Linked DNA regions of Homo sapiens: region 1 is linked to region 2. The links are contacts of gene promoters, found by promoter capture Hi-C in human tissues and cell types (Jung and others, 2019). All regions are on one chromosome and are shown on one strand. The core of a region is centred on a gene start or on the middle of the fragment in contact, and the rest is flanking DNA. Distances in the headings are between cores, read along the strand shown.

What was found. Contacts are between HindIII fragments. The study calls those that stand out against the background at their distance.
Region 1: a contact is called between a fragment that was not itself captured here and the fragment with the promoter of AATK in region 2, in 2 of the 25 tissues and cell types used here (dorsolateral prefrontal cortex and small bowel).

The regions. Positions count from the first base shown.
Region 1 is chr17:81,503,953-81,506,652 of GRCh38, reverse strand. No RefSeq gene overlaps it. Among named protein-coding and RNA genes, the nearest start is that of ACTG1, 7.5 kb to the left of the region's middle. The HindIII fragment of the contact is 9,311 bases long and covers 1-2,700 here.
Region 2 is chr17:81,164,815-81,167,514 of GRCh38, reverse strand. It overlaps AATK (apoptosis associated tyrosine kinase), which reads left to right and starts at 1,294. Exons shown (of 14, transcript NM_001080395.3): 1 at 1,294-1,577. The coding sequence starts at 1,523. PVALEF (parvalbumin like EF-hand containing) reads right to left here and starts at 2,008. Exons shown (of 7, transcript NM_001354639.2): 1 at 1,768-2,008; 2 at 671-838. RefSeq lists enhancers at 1,753-2,496, 2,497-2,700. The HindIII fragment of the contact is 13,495 bases long and covers 1-2,700 here.

The sequences.
Region 1 (2,700 bases), core at 195-2,694, 340 kb before region 2:
TTGAGATGGAGTGTCGCTCTTGTTGCCCAATTGGAGTGCAATGGCGCAATCTCAGCTCACCACAACCTCCACCTCCTGGGTTCAAGCGATTCTCCTGCCTCAGCCTCCCAAGTAGCTGGGATTACAGGCATGCGCCACCGCGCCCAGCTAATTTTGTATTTTCGGTAGAGATGGGGTTTCTCCATGTTGGTCAGTCTGGTCTCAAACTCCTGACCTCAGGTGATCCGTCCACCTCGGCCTCCCAAAGTGCTGGGATTACAGGCATGAGCCACCGCGCCCGGCTGCAACAGCAATATATTGACTCAGAGGAGGACAGGTGCTGCTGAAAGGGGCTGAGAGAATCTGATCCTGGCTCAGCACAGCTGGGGATTGGCCTCCTCCATGGCCTTTTGTTTGTTTGCTTTTGTGTTTTTTTTGGAGACAGCATCTCACTATGTTGCCCAGGCTGAACTCCTGGACTCAATGGTCCTCCTGCTTAGGCCTCCCAAAGTGCTGGGATTACAGGCATGAGCCACTGCACCCAGCCTAGGACTCTTTTTGAAAAAACAACCACAAGCTGGGCGCGGTGGCTCATTCCTGTAATCCCACCACTTTGGGAAGCCGAGACGGGCGGATCACGAGGTCAGGAGTTCAAGACCAGCCTGGCCAACATGGTGAAACCCATCTCTACTAAAAATACAAAAATTAGCCAGGCATGGTGGCGTGCGCCTGTAATCCCAGCTATTCCAGAGGCTGAGGCAGGAGAATTGCTTGAACCCACATGGCAGAGGTTGCAGTGAGCCGAGATTGAGCCACTGCACTCCAGCCTGGGTGACAGAGCAAGACTCTATCTCAAAAAAAAAAAAAAAAAAAAAAAAATCACAGTATCATGCCCCCACCCACCAATTATTGATCGATACTTAGTATCATCTAATGTCCAAATTTCCTTGGTTGTCTTAAATTTTTTGTTGTTGTTTTGTTTGTCTGTTTTTTTGGGGGGACAGGGTCTTGCTTTGTTGCCCAGGCTAGAGTGCAGTGGCACAATCACAGCTCACTGCAGCCTCGACTTCCTAGGCTCAAGCAATCCTCCCACCTCAGCCGCTTGAGTAGCTGGGACTACAGGCGTGCACCACCATGCCCAGATAATTTTTAAACTTTCTGTAGAGATGGGGTCTCCCTATGTTGCTTAGGCTGGTCTCAAGCTCCTGGTCTCAAGAGATCCTCTCACCTCAGCCTCCTAAAATGTGGCGATTACAGGTGTGAGCCACCATGCCCAGCCTTAAATTTCTTTCTTTTTTTTTTTTGAGACGGAGTCTCACTCTGTCACCCGGGCTGGAGTGCAGTGGTGTGATCTCGGCTCGCTGCAAGCTCCGCCTCCTGGGTTCATGCCATTCTCCTGCCTCAGCCTCCCGAGTAGCTGGGACTACAGGCGCCCACCACCACGCCCGGCTGGTGTATTTTTAGTAGAGACGGGGTATTTTTTTTGTATTTTTTTGTATTTTTTTTGTATTTTTAGTAGAGACGGGGTTTCACCGTGTTGGCCAGGATGGTCTCGATCTCCTGACCTCGTGATCCACCCGCCTCGGCCCCCCAAAGTGCTGGGATTACAGGCGTGAGCCACCGCGACCCACCTAAATTTCTTTTAACGGTTGGTTTCCAATCATTGCACTTGGCCACTATGTCTCTTAAATCTCTTTTAACCGCGGGATTTACCCTCTTTCATTTTTCTCCTTTCAGGTTATTTGTGGAAGAAGGCAGGTCTTTTGTTCCAAAGGGTTCCACCTGTCTGGATTTTGCTGATTTCGTCCTTGTGGTTGATGTGGCACGTTCCTCAACCCTTATATTTCCTATAGTCAGTTAGCTCTAGGTGTAAATGTCCAAACTGGTCTGTTTAATCTCATTCAGGTTGATTTTTTTAGCAAGAAGATGACCACAGGGTGGGTGCAACTTCATGGAGAGGGAAAGAGTCCCACAGAGCCTGATGTTGTGATATTAGCAGCCATTGGAAATCCCTGCCAGGACCTGCTATTTCATTAGTGGTTACAAATTATTCTCCCCCTCCACTCCCCTCCCCTCCCTCTTTTCTCCTCTCCTCCTCTCCCTCCCTCCCTCCTTCTCTCCTTCCCTCCTTCCCTCCCTCCCTTTCTTTTTTGATGGAGTCTCACTCTCTCGCCGCTGGAGTGCGGCCTCCGCCTCCAGTTTCCAGCAATTCTCCTGCCTCAGCCTCCTGAGTAGCTGGGACTATAGGCGCCCACCACCACGCCTGGCTAATTTTTTTTTTGTATTTTTAGTAGAGATGGGATTTCACCGTGTTAGCCAGGATGGTCTTGATCTCCTGACCTCGTGATCTGCCTGTCTCGGCCTCCCAGAGTGCTGGGATTACAGGCGTGAGCCACTGCGCCTGGCCTATTTCTTTCTTTTTTTTAATGGAGTTTTGCTCTTGTTGCCCAGACTGGAGTCCGGTGGTGTGATCTCGGCTCACTGTAACCTCCACCTTCTGGGTTCAAGCGATTCTCCTGCCTCAGCTTCCCAAGTAGCTGGGATTATAGGTGCCCACCACCATGCCCCACTAATTTTTGTATTTTCTGTAGAGCCAGGGTTTCACCATGTTGGTTGGCCAGGCTGGTCTTGAACTTCTGACCTCAGGTGATCTGCCCACCTTGGCCTTCCAAAGTGCTGGGATTACAGGCATGAGGCACTGCACCTGGCCTTTTCTTTTCT
Region 2 (2,700 bases), core at 45-2,544:
AACAGGCTCCTTTCTCTCCCTAAAGTCCTAAGAGCCCTGTTGGAGTGGGCGCCTCTCACCTGCTCCACAGCCCCCAACCCCAACTGGGCCTTGCCAAGGGGCTTAGCCATCTGGTCCCAGAATGAGTGAGTGAATGAATGAGTGAGTGAATGAATGAGTGAGTGAATGAATGAGTGGATGAGGGTGCATCAAACTCAACTGCAAGTCTCCAGGACACTTTTTTTGAGACAAGATCTTGTTGTCACCCGGGCTGGAGTGCAGTGGTGCCATCTTGGCTCACTGCGGCCTCTAACTCCCAGGCTCAAGTGATCCTCCCACCTCAGCCTCCCAAGTAGCTGAGACTACAGGTGAGCGCCACCATGCCTGGCTCATTTTTCTAATTTTTGTAGAGAAAGTGTCTTGCTATGTTGCCCAGGCTGGTCTGGAACCCCTGAGCACAAGCCACCCGCCTGCCCTGGCCTCCCAAAGTGCTGGGATTACAGGCATGAGCCACTGGGACCAGCTTCCACTGAACTTTAACTCTCCCGACTCCCACGGGGGCAGGCTGGGGGGACCCTGCCCCGCCCCAACCCTGCAAGGTGGCACTTTGGGCGGGGATGGGGGATCCTGGGAGAAACATAGGGGAAGGGATGGCCCCTCAGCGCCCAGGCCAACCTGCTGCCCTAAGCACCTGGTACAGTCCACGGCAGGTGGAGACTCAGCCAGGTTCTTCCTTCATGGCTGTCGCAGCACGGTACAGGAGCAGGCCTGTGTGCAAAGCCAGCCACCCCCACTCCACCAGCACAGGTGCCACCCAAAGGGCATGGGGTGGGGGGGCGGCTGCCAGCCGCCTCGAAACCTGCAAGTGAGGCGAGGGCCCCTGAGCACCAAGACCCGCCCTGGGTGTGCTCCCGGGTTCCCCCACCTGTCTCCCTGAACCTTTCCACCTAGGAGTACCCCCTCCCCCACCCCGGCGTTCCCTCCGTACCCACTCACGACTTACCATTCACGACTTCCGTTTCCCCCCCCCCCGCCAGCCTCCGTGCCCCCCTCAGCCCCAGGCCGCCGTGCTTCCCGCTCCGGACCATCCCCCCACTCCGTGCCATCCCCGCTCCGTGCACGGCCCCCCGTCCCCCCTCCTCCATGCCTCCCCTCCGTGTCCCCCCTCCAAGCCCCCTTCTGTGTCCCCCACTCCGTGCTCCCCTCTGTCTCCCCCTCCGTGTCCCCCTCTCCGTGCTCCCCCCATGCCACCCCGGCCGCGGAGGGCCCCCCCCTCCCCCGCGCCGCTCCGCGCGCGCTCCCGCCCGCGTTTTCGGACTGCACCAGCGGAGCCCCGCGGCGCCAGGGCCGGGCGGAGCGCCTCGTCTGTCGCCGCCGCCCCCACCGGTGCGGGCTCTGCGGCTGCGGCGGGGGGCGCGGGGCGCGGGGGCCGGCGCGCTCCGCACCTGCGGCGGCCGCTGGGTGATGCGGCGGCTCGGGCCGGGGCCGCGGGCGTCCTGAGCGCAGCGCCCTCCCGGGATGCCCGCCGGCCGCTGGCCCGGCCATGTCGTCGTCCTTCTTCAACCCCAGCTTCGCCTTCAGCTCGCACTTCGACCCCGGTGAGTCCCTGGCGGCCCGGCCTGCGCGCCGCTGCCTCCCTCCGCTGCGGACGTGATGCCCCTGGGCCCCACGGCTCCCGGTTTGCATGGAAATTAACCCTTTCCCCGCCCCGAGCCCAGCAGCAGAAGCAGCCGGACCCCCTGGCGGCCCCAGATCTCGGAGGGGCAGGCCCTGGGCCCCAGCACAAACCGGCCTCCGCCTGTGGGCTGGCGTCCCCCGCGTGGTCGTGACTCCGTGGCTGCCTCCAGGGCACAGGTAACTGGGGCACGGAGGGCCTGCGTGGGCCCCTGGTGTCCAGGAGAGTTGGTCTCAGACTAAGGGCCCTTGGGGGTGTGGGGGGTGTCAGCCAGCTGGGGTTCAGGCTTTCCATGGCCTCTCCTGGGTCCGGGGCCCTGGCGTGGGAGGCTTCTTCCCAGGCTGGGAGCGATTCTCAGAGCCCTGCCCAGCCACCAGCAGCCGGCGGGGGATGTGGGGGGAGCAGGGGCCAGTCCACATTACAGAGCCCAGTGGGCAGAGGCTCAGAAGAGAGGGGCCTTGGTGGGTGCCCAGATCCCCTGACAGTGGGGGCCCGAGGTGACGCTGTCAAGCTGGCTGCAGGGGACCTGAGGCCAGGCCTCTTACCCCGTATGGCCAGTGCACCGGGCAGGGCGAGATTACCCATGGCTGCCTGGCCTCCTGGCTGTGGTGGACAGCTGGGATAGGCAGAGGGGGCTGGGGACAGCTGGAAGCCCCATCTGTCACCAGGAAGCAGTGGGCTTTCTAAAACCTCTGCTTCTCCAGATCCGGCCCCTGCTTGGCCTGAGTGGGAGATAATCCCCCTGCCCTGTGCCATCCATGGCCCCAGGGCCAAGTCCCACCCACACGTCACTGGGGCTCTGGCACCAGGCTGAGCCAGCCCAAACAAAGCCTGTTTGCATGTGACGTGATCTCCTGTGTCTCCTTCCCTGGAGCAGGGCCCAGTGCACGCAGCCTGGCAGGGAGGCACGGGGGTCCCCGGGGCAGATCTCGGTCTGAAGGCATTTGCTCCCTGGAGGAAGGGAGCTGGTGGGAGGTCTGTCTGCTGGGCTTAGGGCTGTGGGTGTCACTTGCTCAGAAATGACTTCCTGTAGTGACCCCTGGGGC